Regions from separate parts of the Homo sapiens genome. Here regions 1, 2 and 3 are each linked to region 4. Evidence: promoter capture Hi-C in human tissues and cell types (Jung and others, 2019). All regions are on one chromosome and are shown on one strand. Each heading gives the region's core, a stretch centred on a gene start or on the middle of the fragment in contact. The rest is flanking DNA. Distances are from core to core; before and after follow the strand shown.

Region 1 (4,231 bases), core at 1,694-4,193, 760 kb after region 4:
ACTTAAACATGTCTCAAAAGCCCCATCTTTTAATACCATCACAGTGGGAATTAAGTTTCAACACATAAATTTTGGAGAACACGTTCAGACCATGGCACTCCCCACACACGGTGTGTGAAAAAGAGAACATGAACATTCGCATTCAGCAATTCCAAATATTAAGGGTTGAGTCTAATTTTTAATTACTATTGTAACTTTTTAGTAACTTACAAAGACACTTCTGATTTATAGTACTGCCAAGAATGACAACATTTAGGGCTGTAAATCACGAGAGAAGAATAACTCCTTTTCTTTGTCTAGTCTCATGCTAATTCTAATGGATCCAGGGCACAAAATATAGAAATGAAATAATTTCCTCATTAAATATGTCTCCATAAAATGTGAAATGCATAGTAAAGATGAAAGTTTTCTTTTTTTCATCGTGACTGGTTTCATAAGGTTCAACTTTACTGAAATGTTCTACTTTGGCTATAGGCACGTTAATGTATGAGTGTATTAATTTCTATGCTTCATAACAAATTATCATACACTTAGTGCCTTAAAACAACACACATTTTGTATTTCAGTTTCTGTATGTCGGAAACCCAACTATAGCTTAATTGGACCTCACCAGGCTGCAATCCAGGCATTGGTCGTGGCTTTAGTCTCATCAGAGGCTCTGCTGGGATCAGAGTCACCTTCAAGCTCTCTCTGGTTGTTGGCAGGATCAATCTTCCTGGATTTGTAGGACTGTGATTCCCATTTCCTTGACGGCCATAGCCTGCAGGCCTCTCTTGTCTCCTTTAAGTGCCTGAAGTTTTTATTTTTTTTATTTGCCACATTAGCCACTTTATAGATCCTCTCACAAATGGAAGCATACTTTCAAATCCAGCAAAGGTGAATTTTCACGTTCAGTCTGCTAGAATGAAGTCTTACATAATGTAACCACGGGAACCATGGCATAGGCGTTCCATCAACTTTGCCATATTATGTAAGCAAACCATAGGCATGACACGCCATTACTGTTGCCATGTTTGCCATATGCTAATGGTTAGAAACAAGTCACAGTTGCCACCTCCAGCCAAGGGACAGGGGTGGCAGGGAGAACACACAGAGGTGTGATATACCATGAGGAGGGAATTACTCGGGATCCTCTTGGGGAGGTCTGCCACAGTGAAACATAAAAACAGGTCATGTTGGTTATGTTGAAATATTTTGGAACCTCCATTCTTGAAGTATTCTGGATCAATATCTAACAGTTTTTTCTAGAATGCATTAATTGAGAAATATTTTTTTTAAATGTCCCAAACAATACATTCATCAAACTGCTAGGAAAAAAAAATGAGATTATACAACATTTTATTAAAAAGAAACTTAAACTTAACAAGGATTAGTAATCCGGGGGAATTCCAACAGCAAACAACACAGATAACTCTTTTCCTTTCATAGTCATATTTACATTATTTTATTTCGAACTAGATATTTTCCTTAATATATGTACAGCTTGGTTGCTTGGCTTGATTTTACATATATATGTATTCATGTATATGTGAATGTGTGCATAACTTTAAATATATATTTTTCAATATCTGAAAGCACTGAAATGGGAACTTTACTGTTATGGTGAATAGATATTTCTATGTTGAAATTTTGACTATCACAAATTTGCATTAAGAATATGTAAATCCAAAACAAGCTATATAATGATCTCAAACATTGCTTTTTTGCTACATTAAGTTTAATGGCTCAATCTCAAGCTCTCTGTAGGAGGGCAAGTATTTCCACCTCTGCAAGGCTTTGCAGAAAAGAAAATTTTGGTAGAATGGCCACACTCATATGCATACCTGGCAGCCAAGGGTACATGTGCTATATTCCCTATAACATAATGTGTCACTTCATAGTGAGAAAATGTCCACAGAAGAAGATGACCAATGCCCTACCAGGCTTCAAGACAGACAATGATTATGACTAGAATGAGATGATCCTGGAGCTTGTCAGTGGAACCTATGCATCAGTAGAAATGCTGTCTTGTTAACTATTAGATCTGCAAAACTATAACCAACAAGCTAAAGCTGTTCATGTTCTCCTGTAGAAATGCATCTTTTATGCTGTATTTACAATTATTATGCTGTGAGTCAGGATTTCCGTCTCACATCCATCACCCAATTGTGTAAATCCTGATTTGGGACAGAATTCCAATATTTATATGAAACATGAAAATGTGGATCATTTCTCTGTTGTTATGATATTTATCCAATGGCTCTGTTTTGTTCCACTTAGGGAAGCCTATTTAATTAAAAAAATACGTGCTGATTTGTGCATGATTTTGTCAGGAAGTTATTTGTTGTTATGGCTTTGTATTTTTGCTGTTATGTATGTACTCTCTCGGTACCTGGCTACACAAAATTAATGCTCCTAACTTATCCAGATCACTGTGTCTTGGTAAGCTTCTCCCATCCTGTTTCTCTTACTCTTCTGTGCCCATCTTCATATATGAACTAAAACAATCCTCTAATTTGCTTAATGTCTTTAAAGTGGAGTATGTACCTGAATCAAACAGAATATTTGCAAAACTTGTCACTCATATTTTGAGTTTCTACTTTAGTGTCTTAGTGCTTTCTCGATATGGGAGAATTCATGTCCTCCATTCAGAAGTATGCACTAAGTAAGAGGTATCATGTCTGGTTCTTGATTAGGTACTAATCTTGAAATACTATCCTACAGTAGGTTAGAGCACGTATATCTCCTGATAATATATTGAATATGATAGATTTAAATAATTGGTTAACTAAATACTAAAGCAAATTGCTGCACGTATCATTTATTATTCATTGTGTAGAAAGTGCCTGACTCAGTGTTTGGAAATTGTCTGACTTTTCCTCATATATAGTGTGGTTTCATGTTATTGTATATAAGACCTGACATGAACCCTGTTTACAATAATCTCCCAGTGCCATAAAGACCATAATAAATAATATAACCAATTGGTTTCTTTATGCTGTCATTTATTAGGGCATATGGCATTAGTGGAGGATTACCTTGTATTACCCATAGTGCTTAGAGTATGAATCACACATGCACCTTGAAGGAAAAGAGGTGCAATGTAATAAGAAACCAGATATTGAAAATGCAAGTTTTGTTATGTTATTCTGGGTATGTTAACCTTTATTCCTGCCCTCCATATGCACTGTAGCAAAGTCTGCCTATTCATGCTTCATCCCACCACTTCACAGCTATTGCTCCATCTGCCTTAGTGATTAAGCTTTATACTACATGAACTAGACTTCCCCTCCATGATCACACCAAAGCATTCAATTCAATTCACGGGTACTTACAGTCTACAGAATGGGCTTTGAAAGAGGATAATACCTAAGCACCTCTTGTTTCATAAAAATTTGAATTCAGGCTATGTAACTATAGTATAGTATAGACGTTTCTGGAAGATGATTAGTTGTATTAGAATAGAGAAGCTACTATCAATCATGTTTCCCTGAAGTTGGAAGAGCACATTACTCCCTTTTAGTGTCTGAGTTACATTACATATGTTGAGGACTGTTATAAGTAAGTTGGAGTTAGTTGACTGGGACTCTGCTAAGCAAGAGAATCTTAACAGGTATAGTTATTTGAGTAAACAGGGATGGGAATAGTTTTTAATAACGTAGAATATGAGTTTTCTTTGTATAAAGGTAAAATGCTGAAATATTTCATGCCTGATGGTCATTACACTGTATGTGATTTATACCAGGAATAAGCTGAGCCTCTTCCCACCATGCCATTTCATATCAGCCATAAATGAGGAAACAAATGAGAAAGTTATTATTTGCCGTGTGATTAAGTAGTCAGTCAAATCCATTCTGTCTAACAAGCGATTGATTGCTTTAGAATGGGAGCCAGAATTTATAAGGGTGGGGTGATATACTTTGGAGTGTGGGGTATGTAATCAAAATTTTTGTGGTGTATTGCATTTTTCAGTGAAGATCACAACAGTATCTCCATTCCATAAGTTCTTTCTACAGTGCATCCTGTGATAGGGTCTTTGCCCTCTCCCTTTGAAACTCACTGGCTTTTTGTGACTGCTTCAATATATTACATAAAAATGCCATCATCATCCACTGTGATCTTTTGAGATGTTTGCTGTAGAAAAAGAGCCACCACGCTGTGAGAATGTTCAAACAGGCAAAGCAGTGAGACTCCGTGGAAAGGATGTATGCATGAATTTTGACTGACAGTATAGCTGAGATCCCAACTGATA
Region 2 (4,310 bases), core at 1,515-4,014, 650 kb after region 4:
ATCTTTTTCTCCTCAAACCAATTTCACTCAACTATCACTATTTAATAATCATTATAATGCATATATATTTAAAAATAAATATTTTCTTGATATAATTTATTATTTGTGACCATAAGCATCTGTAAATAAAAAAAATCAAGAGTAAGTTATTCTTCTAGTAATTATTAGTCCCTGTTATAAATGATGTAAACTTATCATGTTTTCATAAACAACTTTAACAAATTAAAGTGATTTTTGAAAACACAGCTCTCTATGAGAACGTAATTTATATTAATGATTAATTTATTATTACAATGGGACAGAGTTTACCATACATTCTATTCTTACTATTTTTTAGGTCATTGACATGGTCTGGCTGTGCGCTCACTCAAATCTAATCTTGAATTGTAACTCCCACAATTCTCATGTGTCATGGGAGGAACCCAGTAGGAGGTGGTTGAATTATGGGGCAGGTCTTTCCTGCACTGTTCTCATGATAATGAATGAGTCTCACGAGATCTGATGGTTTTAAAAATGGGAATTTCCCTATACAAGCTCTCTTCTCTTGTCTGCCACCATGTCAGATGGACCTTTTACCTTCTGTCATAATTGTGATGTCTCCCTAGCCATGTGGAACTGTAAGTCCAGTAAACCTCTTTATTTTTAAATTGCACAGTTTCAAGTGTGTCTTTATCAGTGGCATGAAAATGGACTAATACAGTAAATTGGTACCAGTAGGGTGGGGCACTGATGAAACGATACCTGAAATTGTGGAAGCCACTTTGGAACTGGGTAACAAGCAGAGGTTGGAACAGTTTGGAGGGCTCAGAAGAAGACAGGAAAATGTTGGAAAGTTTGGAACCTCCTAGAGACTGGTTGAATGCCTTTGACCAATATGCTAATAGAAATATGGGCAATAAAGTCTAGGCTGAGGTGGTCACAGATAAAAATGAGGAACTTTTTAGGAACTGGAGCAAAGGTGACTCTTGTTATGTTGTAGCAAATAGACTGGCAGCATTTTGCCTCTGCCCTAGAGATTTGTGGAACTTTGAACTTGAGAGAGATGATTTAGGGTTTCTGGTGGAATAAATTTCCAAGCAGTAAAGCACTCAAGAGGTGACTTGGGTGCTGTTGAAGCTATTCAGTTTTAAAAGGGAAGCACAGCATAAAAGTTTAGAAAATATGCAGCCAGACAATGCGTTAGAAAAGAAAATCCCATTTCCTAAGGAGAAATTCAAGCCAGCTGCAGAAATTTGCCTAAGTAACTAGGAGCCAAATGTTAATCCCAAAGACAACAGGGAAAATGTCTCCAAAGCATTTCAAAGCTCTTCACAAGCCCCTCCCATCACAGGCCTGGAGGTCTAGGAGGAAAAAGTGGTTATGTGGGTCGGGCCCAGGGTCCCAGTGCTATGCGCAGGACTTGGTGCCCTACATCCCAGCTACTCCAGCCATGGCTGAAAGGGGTACACCTAGAGCTTGGGCTATGGTTTCAGAGGATTCAAGCCCCAAGCCTTGGCAGCTTCTATATGGTGTTGACCCTGCTGGTACACAGAAGTGACGAATTGGGGTTTGGGAACCTCCGCCTACATTTCAGAGGATGTATGGAAACGAGTGGATGCCCAGGCAGAAGTTTGCTTCAGGGGCAGGGCTCTCATATACAACCTCTGCTAGGGCAGCATGGAAGGGAAATGTGGGTTTGGAGTCCCCACAGAGAGTCCCTACTGGGGCACTACCTAGTGGAGCTGTGAGAAGAGGGACATCATTCTACAGAACCCAGAATTGTAGATTCACTGACAGCTTGCACTGTGAGCCTGGAAAAGCCACAGACACTCAACACAAGCCCATGGAAACAGCCAGGAGCGAGGCTGCCTAAGACCACAGGAAGCAATCTTTTGCATCAGCATGACTGAGATGTAAGACATTGAGTCAAAATATCATTTTGGAGCTTCAAGATTTGACTGCTCTGCTGGATTTCAGACTTACATGGGGTTGTAGCCCCTTTGTTTTGGCCAATTTCTCCCATTTGGAATGGCTGTATTTACCCAGTGCCTGTACCCACATTGTATCTAGGATGTAACTAACTTGCTTTTGATTTTACATGCTTATAGGCAGAAGGGACTTGACTTGTCTCAGAAGAGACCTTGTACTGTAGACTTTTGAGTTAATGCTGAAATGAGTTAAGACTATGGAGGACTATTGGGAAGGCATGATTGGTTTTTGAAATATGAGGACATGAGATTTAGAAGAGGCCAGTGGTGGAATAATATGGTTTGGCTGTGCCCCCAAGCAAATCTCATCTTGAATTGTACTTCCCACATGTCATGGGAGGAACCTGGTGAGAGGTGATTGAATTATGGGGGCGGGTCTTTCCTGCACTGTTCTCTTGATAGTGAATGAGTCTCGCCAGATCTGATGGTTTTAAAAATCAGAGTTTCCCTACACAAGTTCTCTTCTCTTGTCTACCACCATGTGAGATGTGCCTTTCAACTTCCGCCATGTTTGTGAGGTTTCCTCAGCCACATAGAACTGTAAGTCTGATAAACTTCTTTCTTTTGTAAATTGTCCAGTCTCGGGCATGTCTGTAACAGCAATATGAAAATGAACTAATACACTCATCTTTATAGATGTAGGTATTGAAATAACTTGTCCACATAAACAAATAGATGAGGATAAGTGTGCTATTCTAGCAATGACATTGAATTCTTTCAACTCTTTTCAGGTGTTTGTAAATGTCTCATTCTAATTCTTCAGCAAATATTATTTTTAAGTGGCCTATCAACAAACAATCCAAGTAGGTAAATTCTTTAGTTTTGTTGAAAACTGATAGTTGGAATCATTTGATTTTCAAATGTATTTATTTTTTATCCTGTCATTAAAATTCTTTATTTTTTCAAAATCATTATAAAAACATTTTGATTGGTCTCAGTAGTGATGCCTAGGATCTTTGTAATTTTCTGGGGCAATCACCCTGCTAGTTTAGTGCTGGGCAACAGATATTTTACTTTGAAAAATTGGGAGAGGTTTATTATAACATGGCAGAAAATTAGAACTTGGGCTGGGCATGGTGGCTCACGCCTGTGATCCCAGCACTTTGGGAGGCTGAGGAAGGGCAGATCACGAGATCAGGAGATCGAGACCATCCTGGCTAACATGGTGAAACCCCGTCTTTACTAAAAAATACAAAAAAAATTAGCCAGGCGTGGTGGCGGGTGCCTGTAGTCCCAGCTACTTGAGAGGCTGAGGCAGGAGAATGGCATGAACCTGGGAGGCGGAGCTTGCAGTGAGCCGAGATCATGCCACTGCACTCCAGCCTGGGCGACAGAGCAACACTCCATCTCAAAAGAAAAAAAAAAGAAAATTAGAACTTGAAGCTCCATCAAATGGCCTTAGGAAATATTTAACATAAAAGATGAAATTATTTAAATTAGAAATTAATTCCCTTAAATTATCTGTGCTCACACCCTTGAATGCCTCCAGGTACTTCACTGAGCACCCAAAATCGAAGTAGTAGACTAATGATCTAACCACCAACAATACATTGGCTGGGCAAACAACTTCACAAAGCTTTTGTTGGCTGAGCATTTCAGATTTCTATTTCTAGGGTCTTTCCTAAATAAAAATTCTAGGGACTGACTAAGGAAACTAAAGAATAAAAAGTCTTTAAAAACAGGTGATATATAATATTTTGTAAATCTATTCTAAAATTCATTAGGGTTGTTCTTTACCAAGGCTGGATATTCTCTTGGGACATAGTCTCTTTTGTGTACAGAACAGTTTCTTATTTTAATTTCCTCCATAATTTAAATCTTGATGAATTTATTTCATTAGCACATTAAATCTGCATAGCACTTACATTGCCCATCTCTCTTAACACAAACTAAAGTAAAAAATATCCTCTGTTGTTTGAGATTTCATTTGGGTAGATTGGGTTCTGACTGATTGCCTGCTCTTCATTACCTCATCACAAGTTGCATTGATTAAGATTAAAGCAGCTACGCTTACATCTTTTCAACATCTTATTTAAAACTTATTTCAAACTTTTGTTCATTTTAGAAATTGTGTATTATATATACTGGGAAATCGTTTCCAAAAATTATTTCCACCTACAATGTATTCACAAGCTCTTAATTTTCACCTTGCCTAGTCTAATGCCTTTCAATCTAAAGCAATTTGTAAATAACTTGATCTTTACCTTCAAATGATAGTTGCAGGAGCTGATAAAAGCAAAGATCAATGGGCCATCTCCTAAAGAAAGGGGTAGTTTTCCTGTCCCAAGATCTTCCCTGCCCCCAGAGCCAGATTAGATCTCTATTCAAATGGGTGGCCATCAA
Region 3 (4,282 bases), core at 728-3,227, 690 kb after region 4:
GCTTGAAATAGTCACCATTACATTATGATTGTCCATTCTCTGCATCAATAATTAGGATTTGGCAAAGAGGGAATGGTTTGTTTACAGACAGACTCCAATGTCTGGGAATAACTTGAAAATATAAAGATTTCTTTTTAAAAATGTTATCTTTAAATTTATTTTTATTCCATATATTTAAGGTGTACACAATGATGTTTTGATATACACATGAATTTGGATCTATGTTTTAAGATCACCGTCTGTATCTGGTGAGGGGTAGGAGAGAATAGAAGAATGCTGCTAGAGATGGCTCCTTAAACAGACCAGAGAAAAGAGTCTGAAGTAGTAACTTAGCTAGCATGTTTAATCTACATAGAGTATAACTAGAAAATAGTCATATTCTAGGTTGAGATACAAGAAATGGGATGTGTAAGAGAAAGATAATGAAGATGCAGATAAATTCTCCATTTTCAGTGTTATTTGGTTCTACATAGCATATTGGTAAAAGACTACAACTACTTATTTTTCTCTTTATGATAGCATCATTGTAACACATTTTTTAACCCAAATGCATACATGATTGTAGCAGTTTGCTTAATAACTCCTTTTTATTCTGAGGCTTCCCAGGCAAATGCTAAGTGAACATAAAATGAATGTATGTTATCTACACATTTAATATAAAAAATAAAATAAATGAATGAGTGGATAAATGTAGAGTTTTTAAAACATAAATGATTTAATGCATTCAATAAAACATTTTTATTATAAATAGTTCAGGGATAATTTTTAATTCCTTATTTCCCTAAAAATAATTCAAGATCATTATTATAAAAATATTCAACAAACCACTAATCATAGAATTAATATGAATGTAGTAATCCCTTCTGTACCTTGGAGTCAAAATCTACCACATAATTATTAGGCAATTAATATTTTGGAAAAAAAGTTTAAATATGCTAATTAAAGTGTTTGTTTTTAATTGTAAAGGGTCATTACCAAGTAATGTGCTGGTAAGTGTCACTTACAAATGGTTAGGAAATGAAAGTTATGAACAATAAAATTAGTTCAAGTTCATTTTTTGTCTAGGAATATTAAATGCTTTATCATTACACTTAGTTGTAACTTCACTTCATCTGACTCCATATTAATGATGGCAGGGATTTCAGAAAAAAATAAGTATGATATTCCTCATGGATTGCTCATCAGAGATATTGATTATGCTCAATTATTTCCTATAAAGGCAGGATTAAAGTTTATGAGCACAAATGAGAGAGCTTGGTTTACTATACTGAACCTTTACTTGAGAATATGTATATCATATATATATGTAAATTTTTGTTGCTGTTCAGTGTTATTTTGGTCAATTTAAATAGTCAAATATGGTTATTTTCTGCTAAAATATCAAAATATCTTAATCCTCTGTATTATTATGATCGTTCATTCATTCAAAATTTCTTGAGCACCTTTTAGGTACTTGAAATAAACCACTAAACACAACAAAAGTTTCTTTCCTTCTCTTGTAGAACAACAAACACAAAATAAGTAAATTATATGATGTGTTTATATGTGATAAATATTATGAAAAATAGAAACATTAGATGAAATAGAGGTTTGGGGAGTCAAGGATGTGTATCATGGTTTATAATTATAAAGATATTGATCAGAATCAATACAGGCCTCATTGGGAAGATGTCATTTGAGCAACAAATAAAAGGAGGAAAAACACTGATTTGTGAGGATATTTGCAAGTTCATAAAGCAGAAGTGTGCCTTCCCTGTTTGCGAAACCTCTGAGATGTTGGTAAGCCTGAAATGAGATATTCAAGGAAAAGGTACTGAGGGAAAGAGGATGGTAGAGTGTGCAGATATATGTAGGAAACTGTGGGCTACTGTGAGGAATTTGCTTATACTCTGACTGAAATATGGAGCCAGTATTAGGTTTTGACATGATCTGACAGAGTCACTCTAACTACCGGGTTAAGTGTAGGTTTGTAAGAGTGGACTTAGGGAAATTAATTAGGAGGCCATTGCAGAAATACAAACGAGATGACAGCGTCGAGGACCAACATGTTAGTAATGGAGGTGGTGAGCAGTGGCCATTTTCTGCATATTTGCAATGTAAATGCCGCAGAATTTCCTGGTGGATTGGAAAAGAAAAGAGATATGTGAAAAAGGAAAAAGAAGAGTCAAGAAAGAGGCTTGTTTGGGCCAAACGAATTGGAAGGGCCGCGTCGCCATCAGCTGGATGCATAGAAGACTGCAGCGGAGCAGGTGTGGCAGGGAGTGGTAGGGAGGAGCAAAGCTTCTGTTTTAATTAAGTATGAAAACTTACCACATATGTGGAAGTTTCTGTTCATTCAAAAAATGTTTTGTTTGTTTTGGTAAGGCTAACACTGATTTTTTTTTAAAGCATTTGGTTTAATAGTCATAGAATTGAGTCCATTTCTATCAGAGCATTGTATTGTGGAAAGAATTTGCCACGTGACTTGTTTTGGTTCATGGAAGAAGAGATGAAGTAACCCACGCCTTGAAAAGTGCTCACCCAGTGAGACTTGCCCCACTCTTCTCTCTGAGATGCTTTTTTGTCATTGTATGAACAGGTCGGGGATAATATTTTAAAAGATGAGAGACCACTCAGAGAAAGTGCCTGAGTGTCTTAGTTCCAGCTGGACCCTGGAGGGAAAACATCCAAGACCACCCAACCCCGATCAAACAAACAAACCACCTAGCCAAGTAACAGTCAAAGAAAATCTTGTTGTTTTGTTACGTGCTACTAATTTTTTGAGGGAAATTGCGGGGCACATTGTGACGTAGCAAAGGTTAATTGATATAAATACCAACCAGGTTATTTATCTAGTTAACGTCATTGATATTATAATCTAGATGATTACAAAATCTCCAATTCATTGAAAAAAGATGTAACTTTTGAGACCAGTAAGACCTGACTTTGAATCTGGAGCTTGATACTTTGCAGTTGCCTGACTCTCATCTCTTAATTTTGCCGCACTTGATTTGGGCCCTAAGAAAAAAATGGGAACACAACCTTGTACAGCTTTTGTAGATGAAATAAACTTTATAAATAAAATATATTCAGCATATACTACATGCTCAACAAACTATTATTATTTTATTAATTACATGTCATTATTTAGACATCATGTAATGTACTTATTCTGTTTTTTACATTTATATTATTATTCTTATTTTTAATATTTTGCTGTCAAAGCTTTAGAGCTTAGTACTGAGATTCTCAACTGTCATTAATTACATTTTTGAGCATTTTAATAACATTTTATGGAATTCCAATCAGCGTTGCAATTCCTAGAAAAAAAATGATTATCTTGCTTCCTTCCTTGTATATGTACCCATAGTTGATCTTTCTTTCCTGGCAGAACTGTGGGGAAATTGAGTGGCCTTTGAAGGCATTCATGACAGCATCTGTAAAAGATTTACAGCACTTAATCTGTCAGAGATTTGTCCTTAGAATTAAAGAGCAGTAGGATATCTTTAGACCACAGGTCGCATGCTTAGTTACATTCAAAATATCTTGTAAAATTAGTTTCAATGTCATCATACTAATGCCTATGTCAGCTTTTTAAAAACAGTGGCAATGATATACAGCCACCTAAACTTTGACTGGAGACTATAAAATAGATGGAGTGGTCAAATTTAGTCCTAAGTAACCTTTTATTCAATGACAGTAATTACTTATTTGAACCTTTAATTCATTTAAATTTGCTTGAACTTTCAAGTGACTACCCACGTATTTTCCATTTTGACAGATAAAATTCAATGACTAATATGTAGAACAACCTACCTAATGCTTTGGTGTGATTGACAGTTAAAAATCATAAAGCACCTTTTCCTCTGACAGATTTGAAAAGCTAAATCTTTAATAAGATCAATTTACATTTATTACTTTTTTCACTATTTTTACAGAAACATTCTCCAAAATAACAATTAATGCTCCATGAATGAGATTCAAGAGATTTGGGAAAACATGAAAATGTCTTGTATATATACACTTTGCTTGTGAGAATTCCAAAGTTTTCATCATTTTTAAAGTTTTTGTGTGTGTGACCCTGGTGAAATTACAGTCACTGCTTTAATGACATTGTAAACATCTGTTAATCAAATAACAAGTGATCTTACCAAAAATATATTACAAATGTATCGCTCCAGTGAAAGAATCATATAGAAATATTCTTCTTAATTTTTCCTCCCAAATGTTTTTCTCTAACTCACTTGCATCGGTTATAATGTATGGACATATTCATTGACATAAAATGGATGTATTTATTGAA
Region 4 (3,948 bases), core at 638-3,137:
AAATGTGCTACTTCCACCCTTTCCTGCAAAGAGCTGACCATGAGTTTACTTAAGTGTGGTTAGTGCATTCCAGAACCAGTAAAGGGTGTGAGAAGGGTACCGTGGCAAAATAACTTTCTAAATATATTGTCTGCTATAAGATCAAGAGGAAATAAGAGGTTCTCTAGCTGTGAGGTGCTGAGAGGGCCATTGCTTAAGGCAGTTCAGCGATGGTGAGTTGAGGGCCGCCTTTCCCCTCCTCTCTTCCTGATAACCCCATCCCAGGATGCCAAGTGGACGAATCATCTGTATAAAGCGCTCTGCCTGGGGAGGACAAATCGCAGACGGTATCTCCCCTATGCATGTTAGCCTGTGTCTACTCTTGCCCCCTGCCCTCCCTGAAGGCAATGCACTGCCCTTTTCAGCGTGAAATCCCCAGGCTGGGGCTGGATTCTGAGCTCTACATTTCTACCTCCCCCCTCTCCAACCCCCGCTATTTCTATGTCCTCACTGATAAGGAAGGAGCTAGGGTCCTTGTGGAGGCCGGGGCGAGGCAGTTGAGTTTTCTAAGGAGCCAGAGAGAAAGTGCAGATGAAAGGACCCATCGTCAGCGTTTGCAGGTCGCGGTAACCCCAGGCCAGATTGACATGGGCTCCGCACCCGGGCCGGTGATTCTGCCTCTTAACCGCTCTTGCAGGAGAGGTGACGTTAATCTCACAAACGTTTTCCTACCCTTCTAGGAGAAATAACGATAAGCCCCAATCTTAAGGAGCAGAGAGTTAGTTCCGGGCGTTTGCCACGGCTCCCTCACTTCAATTTACACTCGCACACGCGGGTACGTGGGTGTTCGGGGTAGGGCACTGATCTGGGGAAGGTCTCCCCCCCGCGACCCAACTCATCTTTGCACATTTGCAGTCCTCCCTCGGTGCACTCCTGGCGGGGATCTGGCCAGTGCAGCGCACTGGGACCGAGGGCAGAGCCCGCGGAGTGAGGCCAGGAGAGACTTCAGGCCTCTAAGGACACAGCTGAGGCTAAGGCTGAGTTGAACGCAGCCCCTCCCGCGGCTCGTCCCCTCTCCAGTGTCTCTCCCGTAAGGTGCCGCTCCCAACAGCAATGGGTCGAGATGTAGAGGAAACACTCTGTACGTTATTTTTCCGCCCACCCTTTAGCGCCTGAGGAGACAGACAGTGTAGACTTTAGGGTACAATTGCTTCCCCTCTGTCGCGGCGGGGTGGGGAGCGTGGGAAGGGGACAGCCGCGCAAGGGGCCAGCCTGCTCCAGGTTTGAGCGAGAGAGGGAGAAGGAGGTCCACGGAGAGACAAGAATCTCCCTCCTCCCACGCCCAAAAGGAATAAGCTGCGGGGCACACCGCCCGCCTCCAGATCCCCCATTCACGTTGAGCCGGGGCGCGCTCGGGGCGGTCGCCTGCAGTATCAGTATCAGCATCAGCATCAGCATCAGCATCTGCATGAGCATCAGCTCAGCTCAGCTCAGCTCAGCATCAGCTCAGCTGTCCTGAGGCAGCCGGCGGCTGTGAAGGAGCTCCAGGCTGCCCCCATCCCCACGCCCTTCTCGGCTCAGGGCGTGCATGAACCTGCGGATGGCCGGCGGGCGAGTGGCGCCTTCGCGATCGCGGCCGCCCCTCTAGGCGGAGGCACCGGGGACCGAACCCGTGACTTCGAGCTCCACTGCGGACGAATCCCGGGACCGCGCGCCTCGCGGAAGAGCGGCCGCCGTGCAGCGCGGAGGGATACGCCTCGGCCGCACCTCCCCTCGCCGCGCCCCCGCCCCCGCCGCCCTCCCCGCCCGGCTCTGCTGCCGCCGCGGCGGCCGCTGCTGCTGCTGCTTCTGCCGCCGCTGCCGCCGCCGCTGCCTGGATATAGTGCGGCAAGAGCGGAGCTTGCAGTCACTTTGCGAGGAGGAGCGCGCGGGCTGCGGGCGGCTGGGGCACCGCGGGAGCGGCGGCGGCGGCTCTAGCAGAGGCGGCCGGGGCAGCGAAAGGTTCTCTCTCCAGGGCTGGACTTAATAACTTTGAAACTGTCCACCGGTGTCACGTCCTGAACATGAGCCTCCTCCTCTCCTTCTACCTGCTGGGGTTGCTTGTCAGTAGCGGGCAAGGTAGGAGTGTGGCGCTTTATTGCATTTACTTTCCCTCCCCCTTCCACCCGGCCAAGAGAGGCAAAGAGGGAGGCGCAGGAAGAATGAAATGAAAGAACTAAAGTTACAGTTATTGCTGTTGTTGTTATTATTATTTTCGTTCTTTCTCCTAGCTGTCCCTAAAATTGTATCTGTTGTGTGGAGACCCTTAAATAAGAGAAGGGAAAATACAGAATTGGAGAGGGGAATCGGTGAGCAGGATATCCAGGGAAACCGCTTCTTCTTCTTCTTTTTTTTTCCTCTGGGATTATGGCTTTCTCTTATTTTTATTATCAGAAATTGGATGAGTGTGTTAACAGTGAAATATCTGAGGTTGCGGAAGGAAAGGGCACGATGGTGTTTTACAGAAGCAGCAAAAACTATCAGTGTTAAACTCATTTGCAAAATATCTGCTGTGTGCAAGACGTTCGATTCTTGGAGACTCTTTTTTTTTTCCACCCCTTTCCCAAAACCCTAATTCCTGACTATGAAGTGAATGATGATGGCTTATTTCTGTTGGAAACTAAGAGAGGGGCCGTGGATATTGTGTGTAAGAAAGCAAATGGATAAAACTAGGGATGTGTTGCAGTCATTCATTTTGACCCCAACCCCTTATTAATACAGAAAGGTGGAATCATTTTATAACATTACATTGTAATTACACCTGTAGAGGATTTTTGGGGTTGTGGGAGAACTGGTGGAAGCTTTTATCTCTTAAAAAAAAAAAATGAATAGCCTGGTAGAATAACCTGAGAGGGAATTTGTGGAAGCTATCACTGTTTGTCTCTAGAGAGATAGATATGAATTTATCTGGCTGTTTAGATAGTAAACACTCACATGAAATATATTTACAATAAATGGAAGCATTTTCAACTGTCCAGACAAGTTTGGACGTTTAATTAGGGACACAAAATGCTAAAACATGCATTGGTGAAAGTCTTTAAAGGAAAAATAAAATAGCACTAATTTTGAGATATGTAATGATTGCAAAGAATGTTATGTTGTTAGTGTAGTGTGAAATTGGTTTTTTAAAATAATATAATAAATTACAAGACAAGTTAAAATATCCCCAAGATATTCAGTTCTAAGCATTTTTAGCCTCTTCTGTATTGCTCGTTTGGTCCAGCAGGGGGTGGTAGAACTCCATTTTAAGCCCAGAAGTTGGTTTCTGCTCTTCCACAGAGTCCTTCTATCATTCTTCAGCAGGGCTTGACATTTTGGATGTGAAGCCTTCCTTTTTCTGCCCTTCTCCTCCCCACAGCTATAGTGTTAGTGGCGGATGAAACACGATTGGATGCAGATTTAATGTTCAGAAATCAGTATGCAAATGTTGGATATTCCTATAGTTTGTAAAGTGTCTTGATAAGATTCTGCTCATTTTCCCTTCCTAACATAGAGTATGAAATATTTCAGTCTTAGCAAAATTGCAGATATGTCCATCTGAAGCTAATACTAGCCCAATTCGTTAATTCAGTGGTTCTTAAGCAAAGATCAGCATGCACATATGTCCTACAGATATGCTTCTTTAATTTTCAGATAGCTGCTGATTGTGTTTAACTGTTCATTTATAGCATAGACAGGTATTTTTGAGCACCAAGAAACAATCCCTGAAAATTGCAGTTAAAATACAACTGCAATTAAATAAGTGTAGGTAGTGTGGGGCAGAATGGGAGCATAATAGGAAACAAGTTTATGCAGACTTAGGATTACATTGTGAGTGGTTTGGAGAAGAAAAATGTCTCAGTTGTGGAATCTGAATTTATCATTGTAGAGGCTAAGTGTGTTGGAATTTGGAGACATAGGAAATTAGAAATGTTTAGATATATAGGTTTA

What was found. The method cuts DNA at HindIII sites, captures the fragments that hold promoters and counts their contacts. A contact is called where the count stands out against the background at its distance.
Region 1: a contact is called between a fragment that was not itself captured here and the fragment with the promoter of NCAM2 in region 4, in 2 of the 25 tissues and cell types used here (dorsolateral prefrontal cortex and lymphoblastoid cells).
Region 2: a fragment that was not itself captured here is called in contact with the fragment with the promoter of NCAM2 in region 4 in 2 of the 25 tissues and cell types used here (dorsolateral prefrontal cortex and mesendoderm cells).
Region 3: a contact is called between a fragment that was not itself captured here and the fragment with the promoter of NCAM2 in region 4, in 1 of the 25 tissues and cell types used here (hippocampus).

The regions. Positions count from the first base shown.
Region 1 is chr21:21,757,721-21,761,951 of GRCh38, forward strand. The region is part of intron 2 of LINC01425 (long intergenic non-protein coding RNA 1425); the gene reads left to right. Among named protein-coding and RNA genes, the nearest start is that of LINC01425, 13 kb to the left of the region's middle. The HindIII fragment of the contact is 4,503 bases long and covers 693-4,231 here.
Region 2 is chr21:21,649,555-21,653,864 of GRCh38, forward strand. No RefSeq gene overlaps it. Among named protein-coding and RNA genes, the nearest start is that of LINC00317, 86 kb to the right of the region's middle. The HindIII fragment of the contact is 5,301 bases long and covers 115-4,310 here.
Region 3 is chr21:21,686,862-21,691,143 of GRCh38, forward strand. No RefSeq gene overlaps it. Among named protein-coding and RNA genes, the nearest start is that of LINC00317, 48 kb to the right of the region's middle. The HindIII fragment of the contact is 3,820 bases long and covers 68-3,887 here.
Region 4 is chr21:20,996,522-21,000,469 of GRCh38, forward strand. NCAM2 (neural cell adhesion molecule 2) reads left to right here and starts at 1,888. Exons shown (of 18, transcript NM_004540.5): 1 at 1,888-2,097. The coding sequence starts at 2,043. The HindIII fragment of the contact is 14,781 bases long and covers 1-3,948 here.